Regions from separate parts of the Homo sapiens genome. Here all the other regions are linked to region 1. Evidence: promoter capture Hi-C in human tissues and cell types (Jung and others, 2019). All regions are on one chromosome and are shown on one strand. Each heading gives the region's core, a stretch centred on a gene start or on the middle of the fragment in contact. The rest is flanking DNA. Distances are from core to core; before and after follow the strand shown. Region 1 holds the start of ZMAT2 (zinc finger matrin-type 2). Region 2 overlaps PFDN1 (prefoldin subunit 1). Region 3 has its middle 20 kb from the start of PFDN1. Region 4 has its middle 8.9 kb from the start of PCDHB1. Region 5 overlaps ANKHD1-EIF4EBP3 (ANKHD1-EIF4EBP3 readthrough).

Evidence for each region. Contacts are between HindIII fragments. The study calls those that stand out against the background at their distance.
Region 2: a fragment that was not itself captured here is called in contact with the fragment with the promoter of ZMAT2 in region 1 in 1 of the 25 tissues and cell types used here (hippocampus).
Region 3: a fragment that was not itself captured here is called in contact with the fragment with the promoter of ZMAT2 in region 1 in 1 of the 25 tissues and cell types used here (hippocampus).
Region 4: a fragment that was not itself captured here is called in contact with the fragment with the promoter of ZMAT2 in region 1 in 1 of the 25 tissues and cell types used here (hippocampus).
Region 5: a contact is called between a fragment that was not itself captured here and the fragment with the promoter of ZMAT2 in region 1, in 1 of the 25 tissues and cell types used here (spleen).

The regions. Positions count from the first base shown.
Region 1 is chr5:140,699,155-140,701,764 of GRCh38, forward strand. It overlaps ZMAT2 (zinc finger matrin-type 2), which reads left to right and starts at 1,293. Exons shown (of 6, transcript NM_144723.3): 1 at 1,293-1,324; 2 at 1,665-1,758. The coding sequence starts at 1,307. HARS2 (histidyl-tRNA synthetase 2, mitochondrial) reads left to right here. Exons shown (of 13, transcript NM_012208.4): 13 at 1-151. RefSeq lists an enhancer at 1,552-1,621. The HindIII fragment of the contact is 4,805 bases long and covers 1-2,073 here.
Region 2 is chr5:140,281,387-140,283,996 of GRCh38, forward strand. It overlaps PFDN1 (prefoldin subunit 1), which reads right to left. Exons shown (of 4, transcript NM_002622.5): 3 at 63-147. Among named protein-coding and RNA genes, the nearest start is that of PFDN1, 20 kb to the right of the region's middle. The HindIII fragment of the contact is 5,922 bases long and covers 1-2,610 here.
Region 3 is chr5:140,322,152-140,324,761 of GRCh38, forward strand. No RefSeq gene overlaps it. Among named protein-coding and RNA genes, the nearest start is that of PFDN1, 20 kb to the left of the region's middle. RefSeq lists an enhancer at 570-1,769. The HindIII fragment of the contact is 4,745 bases long and covers 1-2,610 here.
Region 4 is chr5:141,041,120-141,043,729 of GRCh38, forward strand. No RefSeq gene overlaps it. Among named protein-coding and RNA genes, the nearest start is that of PCDHB1, 8.9 kb to the right of the region's middle. RefSeq lists enhancers at 1-301, 1-900. The HindIII fragment of the contact is 5,128 bases long and covers 1-2,610 here.
Region 5 is chr5:140,434,391-140,437,000 of GRCh38, forward strand. ANKHD1-EIF4EBP3 (ANKHD1-EIF4EBP3 readthrough) reads left to right here. Exons shown (of 36, transcript NM_020690.6): 2 at 1,714-1,867. It overlaps ANKHD1 (ankyrin repeat and KH domain containing 1), which reads left to right. Exons shown (of 34, transcript NM_017747.3): 2 at 1,714-1,867. Among named protein-coding and RNA genes, the nearest start is that of ANKHD1-EIF4EBP3, 34 kb to the left of the region's middle. The HindIII fragment of the contact is 7,246 bases long and covers 1-2,610 here.

The DNA of each region.
Region 1 (2,610 bases), core at 43-2,542:
ACTTAATAGATGACTTGACAAGGTAGAGATCTGATATTTTGAGATTTTGGAGACCATTTCCTGTGCCAGAATCACTGCTCTATTCCATACCGTGCCATGGAGGCTGTTTTAGAAGTGGTTGGATAACATGTTAAATAAAATATTAAGTGTAGTAGTTTGGGTAATTTGTTATTGTTATCAAGGGCTTTGTTTGCATAGACCATAGAAAATGCTTGAGTGTACATTGGAGAATTCTGTGAGGTAGAAGTAACCTCCCTGGGATGATGCTTCTGTATTCAGTGATGAGCAGCCACAGTTTCTCCCTCTTTCCCTGTCTCCTCAAGAGGTAGTTTTTTTGTTTGTTTGTTTTTAGACGGAGTCTTGCTCTGTCACCCAGGCTAGAGTGCAGTGGCGTGATCTCGGCTCACTGCAACCTCCGCCTCTCAGGTTCAAGAGATTCTCCTGCTTCAGCCTCCCGAGTAGCCAGCTAATTTTTGTATTTTTAGTAGAGACAGGGTTTCACCATCTTGGCCAGGCTGGTCTCAAACTCCTGACCTCATAATCCACCCACCTCAGCCTCCCAAAGTGCTGGGATTACAGGCATGAGCCACTGTGCCCGGCCAAGAGGTAGTTTTGTTGCTAAAAATCAACATATAGTGAGCCGGTATGCCACAGTGCTTCACTCTAGAGTGTTGTTGATGACTGGCCTTTCCAAATCCAATTATGCTGATTAAATTATGTTCTACTATAAAGTTCCCCAGATGATGGAAAAATAAGTGAACCAAAGGGTGGTAGCATTGCTTCAAGGAAAAGAGCCCAAGTGCAAAACATGCTTTTTATATGTGCGTCGGGAAGGGTGCCTCTGTTGCAAACGTTTCAGTGTAGTTTAGGGTCATATCCCTAGTGCATGCAGGTGAATGAGAGGCATCTAGACCCCCTAATGGCGCTTCGGCCTTAAAAAAGGTTTAGAAATTCTTGGCAGTGGACGCAAAGTTGCTAGACTAGATCAGAGACCACTGTTTTGCGAACCTCAGTTTCCTTGTTTGTAAAATAGTTGAACTAAATCTTGACCCTTTAATGCTTGTTTTGAAATCCAAGGCAAAAAACAATTGCAAGCGCCCTTACTTCCGTGTTGCTTCATACTCCTCTTGCGCCTGCGCTGTCTCCTTGGAGCAGAGGCGGGGCCAACAAGCCTGTTTTAGAAACCCTCCAGTCCTTAGCTCGTTTAGAACACAAGACTCCAAGCTTATTGGAGGGCTATCTTGCCTTACGGCTCCAAGCCGCTTTTTACGGCGTTTTTCAGCTCGCCATTCACTTCGCTGTGAAGATGGCGTCGGGCAGCGGGGTAGGTGTTGTGTCTGAGGAGGAGGTTTTGCGGGGTGGGGAATGGTTTTTCAGACCTGAATAGAGACAAACTCCTGCACCCGACTGGCTTCCCGATATCTCCTCGAGATCCCAGGGTTCAGGTTCAAGAACTCCCCAGTAATAGGCCTTGGCAGAGGGTCAGTAGAATCGCGGAGGTTTCTCGGGTTGGGGTCTTGAGGCTACCTCAGTCTTCTCGTACAGTCCAAAGAGGCTTTGCTTTCAAAACGTCCTGTAGACACCTGGACCGCGAGGGCGCGGTTCCCTGCTTCTCTAGGGGCCCAGACACGGCGACGGATCTTGACGCTTTTTCCTCCCCACAGACAAAAAACTTGGACTTTCGCCGAAAGTGGGACAAAGATGAATATGAGAAACTCGCCGAGAAGAGGCTCACGGAAGAGAGAGAAAAGAAAGATGGTGGGTGCTAACTACATCAAGGGCTAAGGGTATCACAGAGGCGATGCGATGATGGAGAGCGGGTGGGAGTTGAAGTGCGCTGCCTTCCCACGCGGTGTAAGCTCTGGCAGAGTGCTGCTTCCCTGGGCCTAGGTTTCTGCATTTACAAAATGAGAGCGAGGAGGTGGGATGAAGTAAGTAGTTTTGAGATGCTCTTCAGCTCTATTTCACTCTGCTTCCTTGCCCACCCTTTGCTTGGCTCGTTTAATGCTTTCCTGAAGTACAGAGAAGATAACGGCATCCTTAGTAGTGACAGAGAAGTTAAGTAGAGTATTTTGCTGCTGTGCATTACCGCTATCAGTGACCCCCCTCTTTCCCTTGAAATTTCTTAAGGGAGAGAACATTCCTGGCCCAATCAAGACCCTCCCATATAGTCTGAGAAAAGCCGGGGAACTTTGCAGGATCTGTGATTGTTTCAGCTAGAGCTTAGTAGTGCTGTTTCTCTGTGCCTTGTACATCAGGGAGTTGGTGCTTCTCTCCTGTTTAAGAGATTGCATAAAGAAATGTTTTATTTTGTCATCTGTTTCAAACGTGTACATTCTTCTTTCCCTTTACCTCCAGGCCACCTTGCACTCACTAACTCTTTCATTTTTTATGTAACATGTAAAATAAATAGTGCTTGACATGTAACAGGCATTTCCTAGATGTTGGTCCCCTTTTATAAATTTGCCCAGCTCTCAGAAGGTTCCTTTCCGTTATGCCTAGGGTATCTGCCTGAAAGCATTCTTGAATGTCCTTGCTCCCGTTTTGAAAAAGTTGCTTCTAGTAATTCTTCAGAAATTCTCCCCCACAATTCAGTTAATCAATGAATAT
Region 2 (2,610 bases), core at 29-2,528, 420 kb before region 1:
ATGACACAATAAGATTACTACTTTCTCCCAAAAGTTAACTCCTATTGCCAATAAAAACTTACTTCTAGTTCTTTAATTTTTTCTTCTGCTATTTTCTGCTTCTCTAACAGCTGACTGTGAATTGCTTCCTTGGACTGAAGAATAAACCTATGAAACACAAGAAAGTTGAAAATTAAGCCACATGACTATTGAATTCATCGAAATCAATAGCTACATACTACAAATATTAAACTGAGCAAATTAAAAGGACAAATGCATATTAACATAATACGTCAAGCTCAGGAAACCACCAGAAGTTTAAACCTTCTTGGCTGAGAAGGAATAAAGGCTTAAAAGTAGATTCTGCTTTCTTATTTAATATAGGAATCAGGCAGGGAACAGTGGTGTGGGCCTACAGTCCCAGATACTCAGGAGGCTGAGGTGGGAGGATTGTTTGAGCCCAGGTGTCTGAGTCTAGTCTGGGCAACATAGCAAGACCCTGTCTCATTAAAAAAAAAAGCGGGGGGGTTGCGGGAGTTGGGCACAGTGGCTCACACCTGTAATCCCAGCACTCTGAGAGGCCGAGGCAGGAGGACTGCTTGAGCCTGGGAGTTCAAGACTAGCCCAGGCAACATGATGAGACCCATCTCTACAAAAAATAAATTTAAAATATTAGTCAGGCACAGTGGCACACGCCTGTAGTCCCAGCTACTAGGGAGGCTGAGGTGGGAGGATCAATTGAGACTGAGATATCAAAGCTGTAGTGAGCCATGATTGTGCTACTGCACTCCAGCTTGGGTAACAGAGCAAGATCCTGTCTTAAAAACATTAAAAAAAAAAAAAAAAAGAAAAGAAAATCAGGCTTCAAGTAGATTCATATGTAAAAGAAAAAATAATAAAGGAATAAAAATATATCATACGCTAAGAGAAAAGTCAACATACAAACAAATACCCTATAAGTTTTGTTTTTTCAGTTATCTGTTTCAATTTTTATCTAGATATTTTTTAAACTATATTTGTAAAGTGGAGCGCCCCTCCATTTTTTTTTTTTTTTTGTAACAGCAGTAACTCATGACCTTTTAAAGTCACAATCAAGCACTGTGTTAGGATCAATGCATTAGTGTTTATATGAGTTCCTCAAACAAAAAGCACTGTATAAGCCTTAGTATCTTTTATTATTATTTCCAGAGTGTATATAGTACCTCTGAAAAGCTCAAAATGTACAAGTGGAAATTTTCAACTTTTTCCATTTTACATCAGGCACATTATTTACCACTGATGAGGGTGGAAATATGGAGAAGTTTTAAAAATTAACACTGAAACTGTTTTATGACTTTATGTTCACAATTCTTGCTTCAGGGAAAGGAAGAACAAACTTTTATAGCCCCAAGTAAGTGAACTGAAATATTTCCCCTCCACTGGAACCAAGGGAAGACCCCAGTTATGCAAATCTCTTTCAGGACTGTCTAAGGAAGCTAAAATATATTTCAATTTAATATTGCAATTAATTAAGCAAGATTTTTCTTCTCTTTGCACTAACAGAGTTCAGCAACAAAGAACTAAACATCATCTCTTAACAAAAAGTCAAACGAGAAAACACATCAAGGTAGCAACATGCAGTTTCCTCTGCCAACCCCACAAAAACATCATTGTGCCTAGGTGGGTTCTTATCAAGAGAGTCCGTTATTATAGATATAAGACAAGTAAAAACAGACCAAAAAGGGCAATTAGCTATGCCCCAACACCTGGAAGGAAACTGCCTTGTCCCCTCTTCTTCATAACTAAGCCTTACCACACATATTAATAAAATCTGAAGAACTTCTTTTACTCCACTAATTATTAAGCTTATATCCTAATGCGGCCAGCCCAGATAATTTTTTTTTTTGAGACGGAGTCTCGCTCTGTTGCCCAGGCTGGAGTGCAGTGGCATGATCTTGGCTCACTGCAAGCTCCACCTCCCGGGTTCATGCCATTCTCCTGCCTCAGCCTCCCGAGTAGCTGGGACTACAGGCGCCCACCACCACGCCTGGCTAATTTTTTCTATTTTTTAGTAGAGACAGGGTTTCACCATGTTAGCCAGGATGGTCTCGATTTCCTGACCTCGTGATCTGCCCGCCTCGGCCTCCCAAAGTGCTGGGATTACAGGCATGAGCCACCACGCCCAGCCCAGCCCAACTGATGATCTTAGTCTTCAGTAGTAACTTGATTCTTTGTAAAACCTTACTGTATATTTACAGGAAAGAGAGCCCACATTCATGCAAAACAAGGATTAATTCCAGGTCTTTTACTATAGAACCCTTCATGTCTAAAATATTCTTACTGGATCCAAGAGATGGGTGCTATTTCAGATAAGATTATGGTTTACAGAATATTTTTCTCAGAACTAACTCATATTTGTATTTGAAGAGAAGAGTTGTTTTGAACAGTACTAAGTCTCAGTAATGTTATGTAAAAACTATTCTAAAACAAGGTGCAAGAGTCACCAAATTATGTCATGACATGTGTGATTTTACTGAGAAAGTCTTTTAGCCATGGAAATAATTTTTTGAGTAAAATATACATTTTTAAGTAGCACTGATAGCTGGCCAATGAGTACTATTCTCAAATAAAAGGTCATCAGACATCATCTTT
Region 3 (2,610 bases), core at 54-2,553, 380 kb before region 1:
ATTTGATTCTTGTGACTTAATTGTCTATTTTTCCTATTCAAGTGCAAGTTCCCGGAGGGCAGGGCCTCGGTCCTGTTCACCCTTGTGTTCTTAGCCTCCAGAAAAAAGGAGGAATCCCCGTATGTCTGTTAAATGAGTATGCGTGAGCAGTACACTCACTCAATAATTACCAACTTAGTGATATCCGTGCTATTCAATGACAGCAAACAGGTAATTCTGAGTTTGTCTGCCATCTGAGTCAAAGCAATTTGCCCCCATTTTTTTTTTTTTTTTGAGATGGAGTCTCTCCCTGTCGTCCTGGCTGGAGTGCAATGGTGGGATATCAGCTCACTGCAACCTCCGCCCCTCGAGTTCAAGCGATTCTCCTGCCTCAGCCTCCTGAGTAGCTGGAGTTACAGGTGCGCGCCACCACGCCCAGGTTAATTTTTTTTGTGTCTTTAGTAGAGACGGGGTTTCAACATGTTGCCCAGGCTGGTCTTGAACTCCTGACCTCATGATCCCCCCACCTCGGCCTCCCAAAGTGCTGGGATTACAGGTGTGAGCCACCAGGCCCGATCTGCCCCCATTTATTAATGAGGAGACAGATCCCCAAGGGAGCAAGTGATCTGCCCCAGGGAGGCAGGAGGTGAAGCAGTCACAGGGCTCTGGCAATGACCACACCACCCCTCTTCTCCCTCTGCTTCTAACTTTTCTTGTTTCTGAGGTCCAGGCGGAAATGTAATGTCATGACACATTGGGGGATTTCTTTCCTCCCCTACATTTTTCTGATGTGACTCCAGCTTGGGGGGTTGGGGGAACACAAGCCCCAGGAGGAGGGAGGCGGGTGGTGGGGAGGTTAGCAGTCACATTCCTCAGCAGCCTCTGTTTTCATAGCTCAGAGAAAGAAGAAAGAAGTTAGCAAGCTCTGGCAGACACACTGGGCATTCAGCTCCTGTTCTGGCAGCTGCAGGGGCTGGGCTGAGCACGCGCTCTGCCAAGGCCAGGGCGGCAGACACTCTCTCCAATCTCAGGCTGCCAAGATGAGGTGGAGGGGGTCAGGGCCTCTGTCTAAGATGGGGGTTCACAGAAAGAGACCCCTTCTTTCTGCTCAGGCTGGCAGCCAGTTGGCCATGAGCCATGTGTGGGAGAAGGGGAGCAGAGGGAGGCAGTGTCAGGGCCTCAGTGCAAATCCTTCCAGGTTGGAAGGCTGGTGTGGGCATCAGACAGCCCAGGGGGCTATCTCAGCTCCTCCTCCACCCTGGAGATGTTGGAGGGACAACCTCTAGGCAGATGTCCCCACCCGGCTGCTGGGGCCACTGCTGTCACATTCCAGAGGGGGCTGAGAGCCACAGAGCATGGATTGAGAACGAGCTCACCATGGAAACCAGGCTTCCTAGGAAAAGGTCACATATTTGATGTGGCTGTCATCCAGGCACCTTAAATGCCACACTGTTCCTGTTTTCTTGAGCACGCTGCCAGCAGAGAAGGCCTGAGACAATGGGGTTGGCAGTTGACCTGTTTGCCTGGTTTTAGACAGGCCCCTATCACGGTTTCCCCTTCTCAGCAAAACTCAGTGCTGTTTTTACATTGCCTGACCCCAACGTGTACCCATGTGGGCAGCCCTGCAGGCCAACCCTTGAGTCTGGCAAAGACCCACTGTGCCAAAAATCTAGAAAAGGAGGTGCAAACAAGACCCATGATGGTAAAAACTGGCAAAGCTTGTTAAGAATAGTAAAAGCTTTCGGGTATGAGTACTTACTCCATGCTGCCAGACACTGTGATAAATGCTTTACAGGCACTGTAATCTCCACAAAAAAAACCTTAATAAAAAAATTGAGGCTTTGAGAGGTTAAATAACTTATCTGAGATTATTATATAACCAGAAAATGGCATGACGAGGATTCAAACCCAGGCTTGTCTGATCTAGAGCCTGAAACTTTCACCTCTACTCTATTTCACTCATCCATTTATTCATGCACTCATTCATTTATTCAATTGTCCATCCATCCATGCATGCATCAAACATTTAGGGAAAGCCTCTGGTGTGCTGACACAGTGTGTAAAAGGACACACTCCACAACCTCCAAGAGTTCACAGTGGGAGAAATGGATGAGTAAACAATGACAATATGCGGTGTGATGAAAGCCATGGGAGAGGAGCAGCAAAGCTGCTATGGGAAGAGGACTCCTTTTCCTTGCATTGTCCAAGGCTCAGAGGTGTGAGAGCACAGGGGAGGAGAAACTAACCCAGCTGGGACAGGGGTGGGCAGCAGACTTTCTCCGGAAGGTGTCCAAACACACACCTGTAAAAGGGGTTGAACTTGGGTCACACTTCTCAGGCCTGGAGTTCCAGGGGTTGGATTTACATCCACAGGCAGGAGAGAACACTTACTCTCAAATGGACCCGATCAGGCCCCCCTTACCAAGCACAATGCTTCCCAGGGACGCCCAACTGACCAAGTACCACCGACAAAATAGAAAGAAGTCAGGCTTTCCTAGAGAACCCTGGGTGAGTACATGGTTTACACAGCTGTCCTTAACCCAGACTCTAGTGGCATGAAGAAAGAACAAGCTAGCTTCTTCCTCCTTTCACACTCCCATTGAAGACTGCCCACTGTCAAAAGCTAGAGGA
Region 4 (2,610 bases), core at 30-2,529, 340 kb after region 1:
AACAAGGGGTTCCTACCCCCCTCCACCTCTGGCATTGTAAATTAGCCAGTCACGCGACCCTTGGAACCAGTTGGGATTGGCCATTTCCTTTGTGTGGTGAAAATCTCTGCAGCGAGTCATGGGACCGAACTGGGCGGTGTCGCTGTCCGTGGCCATGGTGCTGAACTCTGGGCGTGGCCAGAGAGATTTCCTTTACATGACAGCTTCCGGTAGGGCGGGGTCGGGGTCGCGTTCCGAAAAGTGGATCCACCTGCCACCTGGTGGCAGATGAGGAAAATGCTATTGATAAAGTGTAAAGGGTTCTTTGGATTAAGACTTAAAACTTAAAAGACACAAATTGAAGATTTGGGGCGTCAGGAAGTGGTTTTTTTGAGAGATCTGCCTATTTTTAAAGAGAAATGGAAAAATTTAGAATTTTCAGAGTGATCTCTCGCTTCTACTCAAAATAATTTACGAATATGTTTAAATTTCTCCAAGCATTTTTTCCAACACATCTTGTAATCAAATAGGTATTTTTAAAGTATCTGTATATATAGGTATTTAGAAATATTTACTAAAACTTCCACAGGGTATATTTTACTGAAAGAAATACTAAGGAAGCACTATGTTGTTAGCCAAAAATATTCCAGGAAGCTTAGCCGAGAGTGCTACTCTGATCTCAGTTTCTGGAAGATGAAAAGTGTGACTATATTTAGGAATTGGTAAGAGGTGGTGGGAATTCTAGGATGAAAACTCTTGTTTTTTATTTTTTCCAAGCCTAATACATAAACTATCAGAGTGCTAAAAATACAGAAAATTTATGGTATGTTTATTACTTTTAGTCTGTGTATATTATTTACACTATTTTACACAGTGATGATTAAGTTACTGTGAATTACATACATCCAGCTTCAGAGGAGGAAACCTTAAGTTGCTTTGTAAGTACAGATCTTGATAAATAGCAAGAAAAAATAGGGGAAATACCTTGTTCAAGTGTTGTTTCAGAGTCTTACTGTATGTTCAGGTGTATGGGTTACAGTGTAAAATCAATTCTAGCAAGTTGAGAGTGAAATAAAATTCTTTCCCAAGCAAACAATCTTACCACTCTCAGAAAAAAGACCCATCCCAGGGCACATTTGGTTTTATAAGTCAACCAGCCCAGTTAGTATTTCCTTTTCTTATAGCTATTTTCTCATTTACTCTTCTATGGGTCTTAACATAGAATAAAAATATAATAGCATAGTTACTTAACATAAAAGTTACCATTTCTGTTTTAAGGTTTAAAACAAAATTTTGTTGAATAGATATTAATTTCAATAAAAATGTAGGTACTGATTTTGGTGTTAACTGAATTTTCTATAAAAAGGAGAAATTGATAAGTGCTTATCAAGGGAAAGAATTATCACTCTAATATAGTCTCTATTTGATTAAATTGAGACGTTTCCAAACACTTGTCAGATTTCCTGGAAAGACATCCATAGCCTGTTCTACCAATATGAAAAAAAGCATGAATAGTAAGAAGATGAAAGACATCTGTTTTAAACAAGAGTGTACTACAAATCCAGTCTATAAGTGGTATTGGTTTATATTATGGCTTCTTGTGTTACTGTGGGAGAAGGAAACTTTATACGCACATGCACAGGTTGAGCAATAAGAGGCATTCTCATTTAAAGCAACAGATGGGAGATCAAGAGCAGCTGCAATAAACTGAGCTGCCTAAAAAGGACTTCTATCCACCAAAGCATCCTGTTTCTGCTAATATGAATAAGAAACCTTAAAAGCATGAAAAGACACAATGGAAGAATAAAATTTTAAAATAGTACTAAAGTTTACAACTGCAGGTGTGACCTCAATGTTTCAAAATACACCTACTCCTAAAAATAGACTTTTTTTTTCAGGCTTAAAAGGTATATATGAATGAAAATTAGAGGTGACCCCAAATATTAACCTGCCTGTTAAAATTACTATTACAATAAATATTATCAATATTAAAATTTTAAAACTACCTGAACTTTGGGTACAATAGTAGAAGCAACAAATCAGAAGAGATGCTCCAATATTTTAGTTAAGGTATTTTTTTTCTAAAAGAAGTTGAAAATAGTGAAAAAATTATCATCAGAACAATTTCAGAAACATTTAAACCTATGACTTAAAGATGAATAAAAATAAACAATACATTTTACATTAATGTTAGAATCAATTTTGATCTAAACTAATTTTATAAGCAGAAAATGTAGAGTCTTAAAGGAAAGAACATTGGGTAAAAAGAATTTGTTATTCAATATGCGACTAAGTACATTTCTCTTGCCTCCCTGAGTGGATTTTCAAAAAAGTTAATTAGCACTTAGGTAATAGTGTAATAATTCCAAAATTCTTTAATGTATATCTTGAGATTTATTTTGATGGGTAAATATATTGATGCTGTTGTGAACTAAGGCTTCTCACTTTGGGACAAGGAAAATACAAAATATGAAGTAGGGGAGGAAAATAAAGATATCTGTATTAATGTATTGAAAGTGTAAGTCTCATGATCCCATATAGATATACGTATGCACATACACTTATACTATATATATATATACAAATATGTATTTATTCAAGGCAAGGATCATTCATGGATGTTGGAAATCA
Region 5 (2,610 bases), core at 52-2,551, 260 kb before region 1:
ATTTGCATATTACAGTAATATATATAGTATATATATTATCTGTATATTATACAAATTACATATATGCCATACATGTTATATGTATATACGTATATATGTATATGATATACATTACATATATTATGTAAATAATATACATACTACATATTACTCATGAGTACTCATGTTCATATTTACATATATACACATATGTACATTTAGCAAAATAAGAATCATACTGTTTTGAATCTTGTGTATTTTATTTAATTTTATGAATATTCTCATGCCATTAAATATGCTTCAAAAACTTTTTTTTTAATTTTTTATTTCTTCTCACAGTTGAGCCAGTGGTCACAAAAACATTGTTTTTAATGACTGCATGGTAGTCCATCATGTAAATGTACAACATGTATTTCCCAAATTCTGTATTATAATTTTTCCTCATTTTTGGAATTTCAGTTAATGCTGCAGTGAACATCCTTGCACACTAATTTTTGTCTGGCTTTCAGAAAATTTTTTAGTGAGCTTTTTAAGGTATTTTGATACACGTTTCCAAATTGCTTCCCAGAAGGGTTGTATATATTTTATTTAAGAAAATACATTTTGAATTAATTTTATTTGAAATTGGAGGGTTACATGTTTATTTTTGTAAGTTGATTTTTGCTTATACCATTCATTCATTTCAACAAGTATGTATTAAATTCATACTATGTGCCAGGTATTCGTAGGCCCAACGTATAGCACTGTAAACAAAGTACAGTTTTTAACCTCATGGAGTGTTCCTGTCTAAAGGTCTCCAGGTATCAGTGGGTTAGTTTTTATTTTCCCTCATTTCAGAGTCAGAATTGAATAAATTATTTAGAAAAGAGGAAAACTTTTCTCTTAATGACCTATCTATGCTATCAAGTTTGTTGTTGTTGTTGTTGTTGTTGTTGTTTGTTCTATTCTATCTAGTCTATATGGATTTTCTCAGGGTTATGTTCATGTACTTGTTTCAATAAAAAGTAAATGCTTTTTTTTTTTTTGAGATGGAGTTTTTGCTGTGTTGCCCAGGCTAGAGTACAATGGCACGATCTCGGCTCACAGCAACCTGCGTCTTCTCCTGGGTTCAAGCAATTCTGCCTCAGTCTCCTGAGTAGCTGGGATTACAGGCACCACCTCACCACGCCCGGCTAATTTTTATATTTTTAGTAGAGATGAGGTTTCACCATGTTGGCCAGGATGGTCTCAAACTCTTGACCCCAGGTAATCCCCCTGCCTCAGCCTTCCAAAGTGCTAGGATTACAGGTGTGAGCCACTGCGCCCAGCCCCTGCTTTTCTTTTTTCAGTATTAATTTTTTTTTTTAATAGATATGGGGTTTCACCTTGTTGCCCAGGCTGGTGTCAAACTCCTGAGCTCAAGCGATCTGCCTGTCTGGCCCTCCCAAACTGCTAGGATCACAGGCGTGGGCCACTGTGACTGGCCTTAATATTGCTTTTCATGCTCTGTATTAGTCACAGAATATACAATGCTCTTGAGGAAACTTCAGTGTATGTGTGTTATACCTGTAGTCATGTCTGAAGGTAAACAGTCACAATGTCCTTCAAAGTCCATTCCCATACTCCCTTGTTTCTATAATAATTTTTCTGCTTATATTTAAGTTCTAATTAAGAAGTCATATTACCTTAAATTGTAGTTATTCTAATCATATTGATATCAGTTTCATGGATATTGCATCTTTATTTCATTAACAGGTTGAATCATTTATTTTGGACCAAGAAGATCTGGATAACCCAGTGCTTAAAACAACATCAGAGATATTCTTATCAAGTACTGCAGAAGGAGCAGACTTACGCACTGTGGATCCAGAGACACAGGCACGACTAGAAGCATTGCTAGAAGCAGCAGGTACTTTATTTTTTGTTTTATCTTTTTCATATCTTTAAAAGTCTAGATCTCTTTACAGTTACATGAGATTATCCCCAAATTCTATAACATTATACAAAATTTAAAATCTCTAAAATTTATTTTACTTTTTATCTCCCAAAGAAAATGTTCACATTTTGTATTTCTGGGCTCAACTCATATATTTTTAAGGTATTAAGATAATGAGCGTCCAGGCGCAGTGGCTCACGCCTGTAATCCCAGCACTTTGGGAGGCTGAGGCAGGCGGATTGCCTGAGCTCGGAGTTCAAGACCAACCTGGGCAACATGATGAAACCCTGTCTCTACTAAAATAGAAAAAAATTAGCCAGGTATGGCGGTGTGCGCCTGTAGTCCCAGCTACTCAGGCAGCTGAGGCAGGAGAATTGCTTGAACCCTAGAGGGGGAGGTTTCAGTGAGCCGAGATCATGCCATAGCACTCCATCCTGGGCAACAGAGCGAGACTCCGTCTGAAAAAAAAAAAAAAAAGATAATCAGCTAGTTATCAAGGAAAACTTACCTGTTAGCCATTATAAAATAAAAATGTGGGAGATAAATTTAGTTAATCAGTTTATGACTTCTTTATCTGTACTGATTTAGGGAGCTGCATGTTGATTACTTGTGTATTCACTTTAATCTATGTTTAACTTGATTTTAAATAGCTAATTTTTTTATATGTAATGCATATTATAAAATAGCTAAAGCAATGTGAAATATATTAAGTAGAT